Regions from separate parts of the Homo sapiens genome. Here regions 2, 3, 4 and 5 are each linked to region 1. Evidence: promoter capture Hi-C in human tissues and cell types (Jung and others, 2019). All regions are on one chromosome and are shown on one strand. The core of a region is centred on a gene start or on the middle of the fragment in contact, and the rest is flanking DNA. Distances in the headings are between cores, read along the strand shown. Region 1 holds the start of AP2S1 (adaptor related protein complex 2 subunit sigma 1). Region 2 holds the start of BBC3 (BCL2 binding component 3). Region 3 overlaps SAE1 (SUMO1 activating enzyme subunit 1). Region 4 overlaps SAE1 (SUMO1 activating enzyme subunit 1). Region 5 overlaps SAE1 (SUMO1 activating enzyme subunit 1).

The links. Contacts are between HindIII fragments. The study calls those that stand out against the background at their distance.
Region 2: the fragment with the promoter of BBC3 here is called in contact with the fragment with the promoter of AP2S1 in region 1 in 4 of the 25 tissues and cell types used here (adrenal gland, dorsolateral prefrontal cortex, small bowel and 1 more).
Region 3: a contact is called between a fragment that was not itself captured here and the fragment with the promoter of AP2S1 in region 1, in 4 of the 25 tissues and cell types used here (dorsolateral prefrontal cortex, hippocampus, psoas muscle and 1 more).
Region 4: a fragment that was not itself captured here is called in contact with the fragment with the promoter of AP2S1 in region 1 in 2 of the 25 tissues and cell types used here (hippocampus and spleen).
Region 5: a contact is called between a fragment that was not itself captured here and the fragment with the promoter of AP2S1 in region 1, in 1 of the 25 tissues and cell types used here (dorsolateral prefrontal cortex).

Annotation. Positions count from the first base shown.
Region 1 is chr19:46,849,102-46,852,318 of GRCh38, forward strand. AP2S1 (adaptor related protein complex 2 subunit sigma 1) reads right to left here and starts at 1,745. Exons shown (of 5, transcript NM_004069.6): 1 at 1,663-1,745. The coding sequence starts at 1,665. RefSeq lists an enhancer at 1,760-2,069. The HindIII fragment of the contact is 18,087 bases long and covers 1,055-3,217 here.
Region 2 is chr19:47,229,539-47,232,755 of GRCh38, forward strand. BBC3 (BCL2 binding component 3) reads right to left here and starts at 1,661. Exons shown (of 4, transcript NM_014417.5): 1 at 1,391-1,661. RefSeq lists silencers at 819-1,538, 1,679-1,908 and enhancers at 2,049-2,168, 2,878-3,217, 2,928-3,197. The HindIII fragment of the contact is 48,720 bases long and covers 1-3,217 here.
Region 3 is chr19:47,208,471-47,211,687 of GRCh38, forward strand. It overlaps SAE1 (SUMO1 activating enzyme subunit 1), which reads left to right. Exons shown (of 9, transcript NM_005500.3): 9 at 689-2,166. The coding sequence ends at 781. Among named protein-coding and RNA genes, the nearest start is that of MIR3190, 17 kb to the right of the region's middle. RefSeq lists enhancers at 521-1,270, 2,262-2,556. The HindIII fragment of the contact is 3,338 bases long and covers 1-3,193 here.
Region 4 is chr19:47,164,762-47,167,978 of GRCh38, forward strand. All of the region lies in intron 5 of SAE1 (SUMO1 activating enzyme subunit 1), which reads left to right. Among named protein-coding and RNA genes, the nearest start is that of SAE1, 36 kb to the left of the region's middle. The HindIII fragment of the contact is 4,260 bases long and covers 1-3,217 here.
Region 5 is chr19:47,141,963-47,145,179 of GRCh38, forward strand. SAE1 (SUMO1 activating enzyme subunit 1) reads left to right here. Exons shown (of 9, transcript NM_005500.3): 2 at 1,532-1,643. Among named protein-coding and RNA genes, the nearest start is that of SAE1, 13 kb to the left of the region's middle. The HindIII fragment of the contact is 6,241 bases long and covers 1-3,217 here.

The sequences.
Region 1 (3,217 bases), core at 495-2,994:
TTCAAGCGATTCTCCTGCCTCAGCCTCCCAAGTAGCTGGGATTACAGGCATCCACCACCACACCTGGCTTATTTTTGTATTTTTAGTAGAGACGGGGTCTCACCACGTTGGCCAGGCTGGTCTCGAACTCCTGACCTTATGTGATCCGCCTGCCTCAGCCTCCCAAAGTGCTGGGATTACAGGCATGAGTCACCGCCCCAGCCTGAGAGTCTTTCCTAAGCCTCATTCTCCACACACTCTATCCTCCCTCCCCCAACCAACCAAACTGGACCGGAACAGGATGTTACACTCTCCTTCCAAGAACTCCTGCTGAGCCAGGGAAAACCACTTCCTAGCAGGGCAGGGGTCCCAGGCAGGAAGGGACGTTGGGGGGCCTACACCAGGCAGCCACAGCCTGGGAGCAGAGCCGGAGACATATTCACACAGTTAGGAGAACTAGAAGCAAACCCACAGAGTTGACAAAAAGCTCTGCCTCTTACTCCCAAATTCCCTTGTATACCTCTCCCTGTTTTCTTCCCATTTGGAATCTCAAGTCCCCTCCGTCCTGAATCTCTGCATCCTCACGCCTCTGCTGTCCCCTCTAGATGCCCCCCAACCTTCCCTGTCTCCAATCCCCCTCCTCTGGAGTTGTTCCCTTTTGACCTCCACTTTCTCAGTCTCAGTTCCCCTCCTTGGGGCCTCAATGGGCTTTTTACTGGTGACATCCCTTGTCCCACTCCCAAGCTTCCTCCCTTCTTCAAAAGGTCACATTTTGCCTCCAAGGACCCTGTTCCTGGAGGAGACTCCGCCCCCGCTCTGACACTCTTTCTCATTCGTTTTCTTTCCCAACTTCCAGCCCAAAGAACCCTTTCCTAGATCCAAAGCCCCAACCTGGGGGATAGGGGCACTCCTAAATCCAATGTTGAGTCTTTGCCCCAACAAAGATTCCTCCCCAGGTCTCACACTTTCAAGCCTACTCCCCACCCCACAAGATCTCTCCTCTTGGAAAGACCTATTCAGTTGCTCCCCATTCTTTCCGAGTGTCCATCTTACCTCCAGGTCCTCTCTCCTTTTACAGCGCTTTCCCAGACCCTTAAGTTTCATTCCCTACAGTTGCCTCCTTTTGGTTTCCTGTGCCAGGTCTCTTCTTGAGATCATCCCTCTCTCACAGGCAGTCTCCTGCCCCTGTCTCAACATCCCCTCTCCACCTGCAATCAGATCCTTGTCTCTAGAGACTCCTCCCATCAAGAAAACCTCCCTCCCCTTTTCCAAGGTCTCGCGTTCTCGTCCCAGCGCTCCCGCCACACTTCCAGAGCGCCTTCCTCTTTCGGACGCCCTCTCCCCACCTCCAATGCCTTCTCGCTACCCACAAGACTGTGTCTCACGAGTTTCCTCTCGTTTCAAAGCTTCCAACCATCTACAACGTTTCCCACCTGCACAGCCCTTTCCCCTTGGAACACCACCCCCAATGCCCGTCGCCGCGAGACCCCTGGTAACCCCCGCGCGCAGAATCACCGCCCTGTGCCCTCCTTCCCGGCCCTGGATCGGTCCCAATCCCCAGAGCCCGCGCCTGACCCAGACCATCCGCGGCAGAGAAGGGACTTGTCAGCGCCCGATCCAGCCTCGGCTATTTACGCGTGGGCCCCCCCTCCGCCAGTCCCCGGCGTAGCGCTCCCCCGTTACCATGGCGACCCCCGTCCAGACCCCAGCGGCCCCGGTCCCGCGGCGACTGGGCAGCTCCGGCTCAGGGTGCAGTTGTAGGGCCCAGAGCTAGAGCGGACTTCCGGTAGAAAAACCCGCCTGCCTTCTCGCGCACAGACCCCTGGGAGTTGTAGTTTCACCAAAGGGGCCAGCCTGGGTGAAGATGGGTGAAGAGTCAGAGCCAGTCCTTTTCCTACCAAACGAGTCAGATCCCAAGTGCATGCTGGGATTTGTGGACAAACATCTTTACAGAGGACTACAATTCCCGAGATGCTGAAGAACCAGCGGTGAAGGCGTTGCATTCAGGGAAATGTAGTTCTCTTAGGTCCCCTCCCCCCACCCAGGGGAGAAGGGCATGCTGGGAATAGTAGTTTTAAATTTTAAAAAACTGTCCTGGGGAGATAGAAAATGTCTTTCCATTCCTCATCCAGTGATTTCTTTAATTTTTTTAAAAATAGAGACAGGGGTCTAGATATATTGCCTAGGTTGATCTCGAACTCAGCTTCAAGCGACCCTCAGCCTTCCAAATCACCAGGATTACAGGCATGAGCCACCACAACACCAAGCCAGTGTTTTGCTTAAAATACGTTGCGTGTGTCTCTCGGGAGACAACAGTTTAAAAGCATAAATTTGAACCGGCCCGGCGCGGTGGCTTACTCCTGTAATCCCAGCACTTTGGGAGTCCGAGGCAGGCAGATCACTTGGTTAGGAGTTCGAGACCAGCCTAGCCAGCATGGCGAAACCCCATCTCTACTAAAAATACAAAAAATTAGCCAGGCATGGTGGTGCGCACCTGTAGTCCCAGCTACTCGGGAGGCTGAGGCAGGAGAATCACTTGAAGCCCGGAGGCAGAGGTTGCAGTGAGCCCAGATCTCGCCACTGCACTCCAGCCTGGGCAATAGAGAGAGACTCCAAAAAAAAAAAAAAATCTCTAGTTTGGCGGGGGCATGATGGCCCATGCTTGTAATCCCAGCACTTTGAGAAGCTGAGGTGGGTGGATCACCTAAGGTCAGGACTTCGAGACCAGCATGGCCAACACGGTGAAACCATTTCTACTAAAAATATAAAAATTAGCTGGGTGTGATGGCAGGTGCCTGTAATCCCAGCAACTCGGGAAGCTGAGGCAGGAGAATTGCTTGAACCTGGGAGGCAGAGGTTGCAGTGAGCCGAGATCACACCATTGCACCCTAGCTGGAATGACAAGAGCGAAACTCTGTCAAAAAAAAAAAAAACCCTCCAGGTCAGCAGTTAGTTTAGTGTTTTTTTGGTGTGTCTTTGTTTTTGCTTTTTTCTGAAAGAGGGTCTCCCTTGGTCACCCAGGCTGTAGCGCAGTGGCATGATCTCAGCTCACTGAAGCCTCAACCTGCTGGGCTCAAGTGATCCTCCCACTTCAGCCTCCCGAGTAGCTGAGACTACATACACATGCCGTCACACCTGGCTAATTTTTTGTACTTTTTGTAGAGACAGGGTCTTGCTATGTTGCCTAGGCTGCTCTTGAACTCCTGAGCTCAAGCGATCCTCCCTCCTCCACCTCCCA
Region 2 (3,217 bases), core at 411-2,910, 380 kb after region 1:
GCACCCACAGAAAACACTGGTCTCACGTGACTGACATAAACACTACACACACGCAGCCCACATGACACACATGAGCCAGCCGATCACAGTGACAAGCCCCTCAGACCCAACACACACACACACACACAGGCTCAGACACAACCCCATCCAGAGGCTGCCAGCAACACCCACCGTCTACACTGCATAGACCCCACAGATCCTGGGTCCTCAAATCCCAGACGCTGATGCCAGACACACAAGCCAAACCCAGACTGAAACAACCCCCCACCACACACATACATACACACACACACTCACACCTGACAACTCACACAGACACCTGGACAGAAAACAGACATTTGCATTTAGCAGGCGCAGCATCACAAACGCTGGGCAAAAGACACATGCCCCGGAGATACAGAGACGGCCTCAGCCAAGACAGAAACACACAGGCAAGACACAAGCACACATATCGCACGCTCGGGCAAGACACACACATAAACACACAAACAGCTCACTCCAGCAACACACACACACTACAACCTCCACACCCCAGCACACGCAGGCACCACAGACCCCCAGTATCATCCCGGAACAGCACACACAGACAACTCTCACCGACAACACACGCAGGTCCACCCACCCCACAAGCAGGGCACCCACAGACAGAACCCCACACAAACAGGCGCGGGGACTCACGCAGACACCCCGACGGGTCAGAAACCCCAACATTCCTCTGGATCGACACCACCACTCCCTGCAGAACCCAGCACAAACTCGGAGCCAGACACGCGCACACACCCAGGCGAGACACCTGCAGATCCACAACCCCGCACACGCGCGCTCCCACGGCGGTCCCAGACACCCCCCTCCGCTGTCACAGCCCCCCCCACCGCCGCCACGTGCGCCCGCCCCGCCCGCCAGGCGAGCGCGGGGCCAATAACCGGCTGTTGCTGGGGCGCAGCCCCCGCCCGCAGGAGCCGCAGACTCCACGGCCCGCGAGCCGCCCCCCGTCGCCGCCCCCAGCGGGCGCGCGCCCTGGGTGTGGCCGCCCCTCCGTGCCGCCCCCCCGCCCCTCCCGGACTTTGGGGGCTGGGGCACCCCTGGGGTCGACCCTCTTCCCCGGGGCCGCACTGGCCGCCAGGGGGCGCTGCCGAGCCCGCACCCCATTGTTTGTAAACAAACCCGCCAGACCGCCGAGGCACCTGTGCGCCCAGACCGGCGCCCCAACGCCGAGCCGCCTCTCACCCGGCGACCCTGGCCCAGGGTCCCTCGCGGGGTTTGGAGAGGCGCGGTGTGGGGAGGCAGGGCGCCCACACTGCTCTCCGCCTGCACTCCTGTCACCTCCTCCAGGGAGTCCACCCGGCCTGGCCGATCGCCGCCGGAGAGGATTCGGGGCGCGCACACTCACCCCGGGGGCATGAACACGCCGGAGGGGGCGGCGGTGGGGGGCGGGCGGCTTCCTTCAGGAGGGCGCGCCCGCCGAGCGCCGCTCTCCGCGGCGGCTGCTGCTGTGGCTGTCGCTGCTGCTGCCGCTCTAACTGCAGTGGCGGCTGCTGTGGCTGTGGCTGCTGCTGCTCCCCGGGCCGCAGGCGCGTCCGCGTCGTGGCCGCTGCTGGGATCGCTGGTGCCGCCGCCGCCGCCGCCAGGCGCCCGCTCGCATGTGGCTCGCGCCGCGTCTCAGGCCGCCCGGCGGATCCCGGGCCCGCTCCAAAGCCGCCCCGCCCCGCCCCGCCCCGCCCCCGCCCGGCGGGTCCCACGCCCCGCCCCCGCGTGACGCTACGGCCCCGCCCGCCCGCCGCGGACAAGTCAGGACTTGCAGGCGCGCGCCGCGCCCCCCCCTACCTCCGCGCCGGGGGTTTCCCTGCAGCGGGGGACGGGGCAGGGCCTAGCCCAAGGCAAGGAGGACCCAGGCGCTGTGCGGCGGGGTGTGGGGAGATCGCCCAGACACCGGGACAGTCGGACACACACACTGACTGGGACCCACAGATCCACACCCCCAGCGATGCGTACACAGACCGACCGACGGGCGTTCCAGGGTCCACAAAGTCACGTGCAGGCAGAGCCCAGAGGATGTACTCACAGACACAAGGCCACAGTCTCGCAAATCCACACCATGGACAGGGGCATGAGCACACACACTCACATACTGATGGGGCTCACACTTACACACACCCAGACGGAAATGCACAGACTCACTAACAGGGTCCCCTGGACAAGCAGACGGACACAATGACAGGGCCACACACAGTTGCAGAAACACCCACACTGATGATCACACCTGGGCCCACAAACTGTGTTCACAAACAACCCTACCGAACAGGCACCCACACCACACACACGGTGGTGCAACCACACAGACATAGGCGGAGTGCTTATCAGGAAACACAAACTTGCTGATAGGCACAGGGGACACACACATACACACAGACACCTGTTACAGGGATACCTGGATACACGGCCAAATCCAAATCACACTCCCACAGGGACATACACAAATGCACTCACACAATTTCACAGCTAACACATTAAAACTATCAGAAAGTGACATTCGCCCGACACGGTGGCTCATGCCTGTAATCCCAGCACTTTGGGAGGCCAAGGTGCGTGGACTGCCTGAGGTCAGGAATTCGAGACCAGCCTGACCAACATGATGAAACCCCATCTCTACTAAAAATACAAAATTAGCCGGGCGTTGTGGCGCATGCCTGTAATCCCAGCTACTTGGGAGGCTGAGGCAGGAGAACTGCTTGAACCCGGGAGGCGGAGGTTGCAGTGAGCCGAGATAGTGCCATTGCACTCTAGCCTGGGCAACAAGAGCAAACTCCGTCTTAAAAATAAAAATAAAGGAAAGAAACTGACATTCAGAGACACAAACCAAATCAGACATAGAAGAAACTGACCACCCACACATGTCACAAAGTCACACCTGTGACAGCTTCTTGCTAACTGGCCCACTGCACACACGTCGGAGCATGCACACCTGGCCACACTCACCACAAATCTGGCAGGGGACCCACGTCGTGGAAGCAGCCCTGGGCACCTGGCATGGACATGCCTGGGCAGACCCCATGCCAAATTTCATCCTGTCTCATAGCTTTCCATTCCGTTTCTTTTTCAGTTTCTCATTGTTACTTCCTGCCCTGCTCTGGTTTGGTGAGTTTTGTCCTTCCTTTTTCCAAAGCCGTGGATTCCTGTCTCCTCTACACTTTCCATCCTTACTGGGTCTCACCCAATC
Region 3 (3,217 bases), core at 275-2,774, 360 kb after region 1:
CACTGTGTCGCCCAGGCTGGAGTGCGGTGGCGCAATCTCAGTTTACTGCAACCTCTGCCTCCTGGGTTCAAGCAATTCTCCTGCCTCAGCCTCCCGAGTAGCATGCCACCATACTCGGCTAATTTCTGTATTTTTAGTAGAGACAGGTTTCACCGTGTTGGCCAGGCTGGTCTCCAACTCCCAACCTCAGGTGATCCGCCCACTTCAGCCTCCCAGAGTGCTGGGATTACAGGCGTGAGCCACTGCGCCCCACCTATTTTAGTTTTCATATAGACGGGATCTCACCATGTTGCACAGACTGGTCTTGAATTCCTGGGCTCAAGTGATTCTCCCACCTCAGCCTCCCAAAGTGCTGGGATTACAGGTGTGAATGTGCCTGGCCCTGGCCTGTTTTACATTTTTGAGATACATAGTTTAACCCAGGCAAATACATTTCTTAATCTCATGTTAGGAAAATAAGGTAATGTTTGGAGAGGTTAAATAATCTCCCCATGGACACACAGCTTGTAAGGGACAGAGCAAGGAGATAGGACAATCAAAATTGTCTCCAGACATTGCCAAATAGCCCTTTGGGAGCAAAATCGACCCCAGTTAAGAACCACTGCCCTAGACTGCTTTTAGAATTTTTTTTTCCCTCTATTCCTCTTAAAGCACTTGAGCTAAACCCTCTTTTCATTTTTCTCCCCAGGCCCTGTCTCAGCGGGACCCTCCTCACAACAACTTCTTCTTCTTCGATGGCATGAAGGGGAATGGGATTGTGGAGTGCCTTGGCCCCAAGTGAACTCAAGATTTGGCAGCCCCAGAGATGCCAACTGCAGCATGCCCACCTGTATTCCCTGTCCCCTTCCTTCATGAAGGCATCTCCAGGCAAGGAAAACTGAAGTCATTGGCCCGATACAAAACATTTCCTGCAACGAAGGAGGTGGTGCCGACGTGCTGCTTCCCATCACCAGCAGCTGCTCGACAAGGGGCGCAGGGTGGCTGTCTTTGTTCCAGCACTGTTCAGGCTGCCTGTCATCCCGGGCCTGCCAGCTCCCCTGAGTGATGAGCACTTCCAAGCACCCCTCTGCCCTTTCTCTGTCCTTATGCTGTCCCGGCCTCGCCAGCCCTCTGGGGCATTGTGGGAGATGCCTGCCAGGAATGAGCAAGCTCTGTTGCTCGGGAGCCTCTTGTCACCTTCTTGGACTTATTCCCCACCTGATACCTTATAGAGAAAAGTGTGAATTCAGGTGGAGAGTAGGCCCAGGCCCCATGAGGCACCAGTGGAAGCACAGCTCCAAGTTCAGACAGGTGCCCTTAGAGAGGAAAACCATGACAGGCAAATGCATTTCCTCTGGAGTTTGAGACCCTGACAAACAACAGGTGGCATCTGGTGTGCTGTTCTTGAGTTTTCGTTTAGGATTAGTTGAGTTCCAGCTGGGTTTTGGGAGAAAGGAGATGCTACCAAGTCTTGGATGTTAGGGCGAGACCCTGCAAGTTGAGTATTAGAGAGCTTGTCTTTCAAGGCAGGTTCCTGGGGCTTCAGGGCTAGGAGGGAGGAGCCTGCCCTTTTAACAGAACCCCAGTCACATGCGGCTCAAGTCACTCAGAGGCTGTTGCATTTCAGGGCTATGTTGGTCCTTTGTTTACCTCCTAAACCACAGCTGTTTGTGTTTCACATATGTTGTGAATTTTCCTTGGTTCTTTTTAAAGGAATGATAATAAAGTTACTTGCTTTAGGATTTGCTTGTTTTTCTTCCACTTCAGAAGCTTCTGAGAGGGAATGGGATGATCCTACCAGTTGCCTTTTCAGACCTGAGGCTCTAACTCAAGAGATTCCTCCTCTCCCTCACCATTCCTGCCACCATTTTTTCTGGGTGATGCAGCAAGAGTTAAATTGTTCACATTCTAGAATGTGTAGAAGCTTCTGGCTCCAGTTGTCTAATGGATAATTCAGCTAAATAGTGGCTATTTTCAGTGGCAAGAATTATAATAATAAAGGGAAGTCAAAAGTGATGCTTCATATGCCCCAAGTGCCACAGCCGCTACGGGTCAGAGCTTTTATTGGAAGACCAGGTTTGCCTTGATGCAGCCAAAGTGCGTTCCAGTTCACCCCACTCTTGCTTGTGTTTCTTCTTTATGTAAATTGTGTGATGTTTCAATAAATCAGTCTCTTTCCTATTCTGATCCTGCAGCAGTTAGTCGGGGAGAAAAGTGGTCTTCACTACAGAAGGGCCTCTGTTCCTCAACCCTGCATCACCTGCTCCCGCCGGAGGTGAGACAGGGGCTGCATTTCGGAAAGGATCCGTGTCTCGCCACCTTTAGTGCAAGTCAGTGGCGTCAGGGTCAGCAGTTACATTGCTGCATGAATTTCACGTGGTCTTTAAATTCTGAGCTAATTATACTCTTGACTGTAATGTGCAGCCTTGGTCACAAGGGGGAGCAGGTGGGTCTGGATTGATAAAAACAAAATTGTAGAATCGTCCCGGAAGCTTCAAACTTTTCCACCCTGTACCTCTAACGGCAGAGATTAAGTCACCCAGAGGACCCCTCAGGAATCGAGGGGAAAGCTGCCAGCCCCAGGCAAGAAATGTCTAGTTTCTACAAATTTCATAAACTGCCACATGATGTTTGTATTAATCATAAAAATGAAGAAAAAAAGGCCAGGCGTGGTGGCTCACGCCTGTAATCCCAACATTTTGGGAGGCTGAGGCGGACGAATCACGAGGTCAGGAGTTTGAGAGCAGCCAGGCCAACGTGGTGAAACCCTGTCTACTAAAATTACAAAAATTAGCCGGGCATGGTGGCGGGTGCCTGTAATCTCAGCTACTGGGGGAGGCTGAGACAGGAGAATCACTTGAACCTGGGAGGCGGAGGTCGCAATGAGCTGAGGTCGCACCACTGCACTCCAGCCCGGGTAACAGTGTGACACTCCATCTCAAAATCTGCAGTCAGTCAGGCATGGTGGGAGGCTGTGGCGGGAGAAGCACTTCAGCCCAAGAGTTCGTGACCAACTTGGGAAACAAAGCAAGACCCCATCTCCACAAAAAAAGAAATAGCTGAGCATAGTGGCTTGTGCCTGTGGTCACAGCTGCTTGGGAGACTGGGGCAGGAGGATCACTTGAGCCCAGGAGTTTGAGGCTGAAATGACCTGGATTTCACCACTGCACTGAAGCCTGGGTGAAAGAGTGAGACACTGTCTCGAAAAAAAAATCCCAGCACTTTGGGAGGCCGAGGC
Region 4 (3,217 bases), core at 446-2,945, 320 kb after region 1:
CCTCAGCCTCCTGAGTAGATGGAACTACAGGCACCTGCCACCACGCCCAGCTAATTTTATTTTTGTATTTTTAGTAGAGAGGGGGTTTCACCGTGTTAGCCAGGATGGTCTCGATCTCCTGACCTCGTGATCCGCCTGCCTCAGCCTCCCAAAGTGCTGGGATTACAGGCGTGAGCCACAGTGCCCGGCTAATTTTTGTATTTTTAGTAGAGACGGAGTTTCACCATATTGGCCAGGCTGGTCTCGAACTCCAGACCTTGTGATCCACTCACCTTGGCCTCCCAAAGTGCTGGGATTACAGGCATGAGCCAAGTCTTTTTTTTTTTTTTTTTTTTTTTTTGAGACGGAGTCTTGCTCTCTTGCCCAGGCTGGAGTACAGTGGTTTGATTGTGATCTCGGCTCACTGCAACCTCAGCCTCCTGGGTTCAAGCGATTCTCCTGTCTCAGCCTCCCAAGTAGCTGGGATTACAGGCACATGCCACCATGTCCGGCTAATTTTTATATTTTTAGTGGAGACGGGGTTTCACCATGTTGGCCAGGCTGGTCTCGAACTCCTGACCTCAGGTGGTCTACCCACCTTGGCCTCCCAAAGTGCTGGGATTATAGGTGTGAGCCACCGCACCCGGCCTTGTTATTAGTCTTAACTAGATTGTTGATTGAAGTCCTTAAGCCCAGAAATGTATGTGAAGGATGGTGGAGAAGAGTGGCTCAGGCATTCTAGGCAGAGGTATTCTTGAGCTGAGGAAGTGGAGGAGAGGAGGTATGTAAGTTACCTGTTTTCAGGGGTTCATTCCAGTGGATAGTGGATGCCACTCCCTGGCAGACACTGTGGGTGCCTCACCTGAAAGACTCCTGATTCCCTGAAGGCATTGTCGGGTGTATTTTTTCTTTATAAGCGTAATGCCAGTGGAGTGGGTAAGACAGGTACCACCTTTTGCATCTGCTGCTACAGATTAGGCAGCTTGGTTAAGTTTTGTTTTGTTTTTAATTGTTATGAGTTAGTTTGAACCAAAAGGATTGTTAAGTGGAGTGTAAGAAGCACTGAATAACTACTGTTATCTGAGAGGAGTAGTAAAGACCAGGGCCACTGGGCAATCCCAGAGGCATTAGGAATTTGTGGCCTTTCCCTTTAGAGCATTGTCATTATGTGTATCTGCATCTCTGCATTCCAACTTTCACATTTTCAGTTCCCAGGAGAGAGAATCTGATTGGCCTGGTTGGGGTCCTGTGCCCACTTCTGGCTGTCACCTGTGGCTTTCTTCCCTCAGTTGTAGACCACACTCTGGATACCTGGGACCCCTGAAATCTCCTGCCCAGACAACCCCAAGCTTCTCAGGACTTTTTGTGGGCTGCTTCCCTGTTCTGCCTGTGCAGTGCAGGCCTTGTCACAATGTCTGAATGCTTAGGCCAGAGACGTGGGGGTTTGGTGAGAAAGGATGAGCTGGGTAGCTACACTCAAGTGCAGAGCCACCAGTATTGTGGGACAGAGCCAGGCATGGGAAGAGAAGTGGGCACGGATGGGGGCCAGCTTTCCCGATGTGCCTTAATCTGGCACAGAACTCCTAAGGAGTGTGAAAATTTCAAATTTGATCCAGGCCTTCCAGGTGGTTATGAAGAAGGCGAGTTTGTCAAGACAGGATAATACAATATACTTCATTTAATAGCTTGTTAGTGTGATTTATAACTAAATATGTAGACATCATATATGGGTCTTCATTCATACTCTTGCCCCAGGCCCTGAAAGTGTTAGCTAACAGGCAAGACCTGCCTGGGACTGAGATTCTAAAACACAACCTCCACCCCCAACTCCGTTTCATCATATAGTAGCCTAACATATTAGTTGGTTCGTTGCTTATAGTCAGGCAAACAACAAAGACTCCGAATTGAGCTCTTGGTAATTTTTGAAACCTGCCTGGTAATACTGTGTTTCCTCATTCTGATGGCATTCCCAGACCATATTGCAAATGACTTGATGTGTATTTTCAGACTTGTTGAGAAGGGCCTGGTGGTCTATATAGCAGGCATAAAATGTCACCAGGCCGACTTCATGACTTATCTTTTGAGGTCAAACAGACCCATTGACCAAAAGATTTGAGGGCAGTGAAAACATCTTGTATACTATCTTTAACAATGGATTTAACTCCTAAAGGAAAGCCACCTAAACATGACTGTTTAATCTTCACTAGCAATTTGAACTTTTTTTTTTTTGAGACGGCGTCTCACCTTGTTGCCCAGGCTGGAGTGTAGTGGTGTGACCTTGGCTCGCTGCAACCTCCACCTCCTGGGTCCAAGTGATTCTGCTCCCTCAGCTTCCTGAGCAGCTGGGATTACAGGTGCCTGCCACCACACCCAGCTAATTTTTTTGTATTTTTAGTAGAGACAGGGTTTCACCGTGTTGGCCAGGCTGGTCTCCAATTCCTGACCTCTAGTGATCCACCCGCCTTGGCCTCCCAAAATGCTAGGATTACAGGTGTGAGCCACCACACCCGGCCTGCGCCCAGATAATTTTTGTATTTTTTTTTTTTTTGAGAGTCTCGCTCTGTCCCCCAGGCTGGGGTGTAGTGGCACGATGGGTTCACGCCATTCTCCTGCCTCAGCCTCCCGAGTAGCTGGGACTGCAGGTGCCTGCCACCACGCCTGGCTAATTTTTTTGTATTTTTAGTAGAGACGGAGTTTCGCCATGTTAGCCAGGATGGTCTCGATCTCCTGACCTTGTGATCTGCCCGCCTTGGCCTCCCAAAGTGCTGGGATTACAGGTGTGAGCCACTGCGCCCAGCCAACAATTTGAACTTTTATCTGTCAAATCTATATGCATCCTTAGCAAGCTTTGTAAACTGCCTGGTAACTGATAGATCTTGGTTCACTTAGCTTCCCAAATTATGCTGTTATCATCTTGTCTCTCTGTTCTTTAAATATCTGGTTGGGAGGGTATGGAGAGAGAGGGAGGAAGAAAGACACCTCTGTAAGTTTGAAATTATTTGCATCCCCCCCACCGCCCACCACCAACCTTTTTAAAATATAGAGACACAGAGTCTATACCACGCCTGGCCTAAAATAATTTTTTTTAGAGACGGGATCTAACAGTGTTCCCCCAGCTTGGCTATCTTAAACTTCTTAAGGGTAGCTAGTTCTAAGAACTGCTTTTTTCTGGCTAGGCACAGTGGCTCACGCCTATAATCCCAACACTTTGGGAGACCGAGGCAGGCAGATCACCTAA
Region 5 (3,217 bases), core at 323-2,822, 290 kb after region 1:
CAAGAGATTTCAGATAAGATATAGTTGACCTATTCTGCTTCCTACTGACCTCAGAGAAGTCTTGGGATGGCCTGACCTCTGATTGCCTTTTTTCAGCCTCATCTTCTGTCACTTTACAGATTTAAAAAGCTAAAAACAAGGCTGGGCACGGTGGCTCATGCCTGTAATCCCAGCACTTTGGGAGGCTGAGGCAGGTGGATCACTTGAGGTCAGGGGTTCGAGACCAGCCTGAACAACATGGTGAAACTCCGTCTGTACCAAAAATACAAAAACTAGCCAGGCGTGACAGTAGGCGCCTGTAATCCCAGCTACTCGGGAGGCTGAGGCAGGAGAATTGCTTGGACCTGGGAGGCGGAGGTTGTAGTGAGCTGAGATCACGCCACTGCACTCCAGCCTGGGCAACAGAGCGAGACTCTGTCTTTAAAAAAAAAAAAAAAAAGGTAAAAGCAATTCCTGTGTACATGCTCTTTTCATGCCACCATGTGTTTTGCTTGTGTGTTATACTTAACTAGTGCCTCTTCTCAGCACCTCTTCTGCTGTCATGCTAGTTTGAGCCACCATCATCCTCCCTCACCTTAACTGTGACATCTTCCTACCCCCATGGCTTTCCATCATGCCTCGAAGAAAATCCAGAATCCTTCCATTGCATGTAAGAGCCTTCATGATGTGGCCCCTTGTTCCAACTTTTCAGCCTCTCTGTCATTCCTGTCCCTAGAACATGCCAAGCACTCCTGCTTCAGGGCTTTTGCATTTGCTGTTTTCTCTATCTGGAATGTTCTGCTGCCAAATATCTGTGTGTTTGTCCTTTATTTCATTTTGATTTTTGCTCATATGGCATCTCCTCAGAAAGGCTTGTATGATTTCTGTCTCAAATAGCGTTCTCCATCATTCTTGATTCTTGTCACACTTGATTTTCATCACTTTTTCACATATTATGTATCTATTTGTTTATCTGTCTCCTACTTTTTCATGAGGGCAGGGACTATGTCTGATTCACCGCCTTATTTCCACACCATAGAAGGATGCCTGGCATAGTTGGTACTCAATAAATATTTGTTGAATGAATTGTTTTGTGCAGTATGGATTAGAGCCTGTCTCTTTCCTAGATTCGAGGTGTGATGCCTCAATGCAGTTAGAACCAAAATGATTTTTTTTTTTTTGAGACGGAGTCTCACTCTTGTTGCCCAAGTTGAAGTGCAGTGGCATGATCTCGGCTCACTGCAACCTCCGCCTCATGGTTTCAAGTGATTCTCCTGCCTCAGCCTCCCAAGTAGCTGAGATTACAGGCGCCTGCCACTACGCCCAGCTAGTTTTTGTATTTTAGTAGAGACGGGGTTTCACCGTGTTGGTCAGGCTGGTCTCGAACTCCTGACCTCAAGTGATCCGCCTATCTCAGCCTCCTAAAGTGCTGGGATTACAGGCATGAGCCACCGTGCCTGGCAAACCAAAATGATTTGTGTATTTTTTGTTCTTCTGTGATTCTGCAAGCTCACTGTTCTGTATCATCAGGTTAACAATGTTTGTCTTACAGGCTGCGGGCCTCTCGGGTGCTTCTTGTCGGCTTGAAAGGACTTGGGGCTGAAATTGCCAAGAATCTCATCTTGGCAGGAGTGAAAGGACTGACCATGCTGGATCACGAACAGGTGCGCTGTTGTGAGCTCATTCCTCCCCTGCTCTGGCTCCCCTTTCCAGCATGAAGATCTGCAGATTTTGTGAGTTCCTCCTTGTGCCTTAAGGGCTGTGAAAGGAGGGCTAACATTAATAAACCATTGCCTCTGGAGACTGAAGGTGCTATTGTTGGGTTTGAATTCTAGCTCCACCACATCTAGCTGGATGAGCAGTAGAGACTCACACCCCCTCATTGAGCTTGCCTGCCTGTAAAATGGGGTTAGTAATATCTCCCTTGGTGGTTGCTTGTGAGGAGGTGTAGAGAAGTGTTTTTCCAATTTGTGCCTAAAAATGACCTGAGTGACTAACTGAAAATGCAGAGTGGCCTGGAGGCTTCGTGGTGCCCTAGCTTTCACCCCTAGTGATTCTCATTTAGGTCTGAGGCGAGCTCAGGAGTATGTGCATTTAAAAGGTGTTTTAGGGCTGGACGCAGTGGCTCATGCCTGTAATCCCAACACTTTGGAAGGCTGAGGCAGGCGGATCATCTGAGGTCAGGAGTTTGAGACTAGCCTGGCCAACATGGCAAAACTCTGTCTGTACTCAGTATACAAAAATTAGCCAGGCATGTTGGTGTGCACCTGTAATCCCAGCTACTCGGGAGGCTGAGGCACAAGAATCGCTTGAATCTGGGAGGTGGAGTTTGCAGTGAGCTGAGATGGCACCACTGCACTCCAGCCTGGGCAACAGAGTGAGACTTTGCCTTAAAAAGAAATAAATTAATGAAAGGTGTTTCAGGAGATTATGATTTAGATGGTCCACAGACATCACTTTAAAAAACACTGGATCAGGCCAGGCACAGTGGCTCATGCCTGTAATCCCAGCACTTTGGGAGGCTGAGGCGGGCAGATCATGAGGTCAGGAGATCGAGACCATCCTGGCTAGCACGGTGAAACCCCATCACTACTAAAGACACAAAAAATTAGCAGGGCTTGGTGGCGGGCGCCTGTGGTCCCAGCTACTCGGGAGGCTGAGGCAAGAGAATGGCGTGAACCTGGGAGGCGGAGCTTGCAACGAGCCGAGATCATGCCACTGCACTCCAGCCTTGGCAACAGAGTGAGACTCCGTTTCAACAACAACAACAACAAAAACAAACAAAAACAAACAACACTGGATCAGAGAGAATGTGGGCAGACTGCTTTGTATAGTGCTTGAACCTAACAAGTATCCAGTAATTAGGAATAATGATCTGACATGCTGTTTGTTTGTTTGTGTGTTTTTGCGAGACGAGTCTTGCTGTGATGCCCAGACTGGAGTGCAATGGCGCAATCTCCGCACACTGCAACCTCCGCTTCCCGGGCTCAAGTGATTCTCCTGCCTCAGCCTCTGAAGTAGCTGGGATTACAGGCACGCACCACCACGCCTGGCTAAGTTTTGTTTTGTTTTTTTTTTGAGACGGAGTTTAGCTCTTGTTGCCCAGGCTGGAGTGCAATGGCGTGATCTTGGCTCACTGCAACCTCTGCCTCCCAGGTTCAAGCAATTCTCCTGCCTCAATCTCCCGAGTAGCTGGGATTACAGGCATGCAACACCATGCCTGGCTAATTTAACGTTT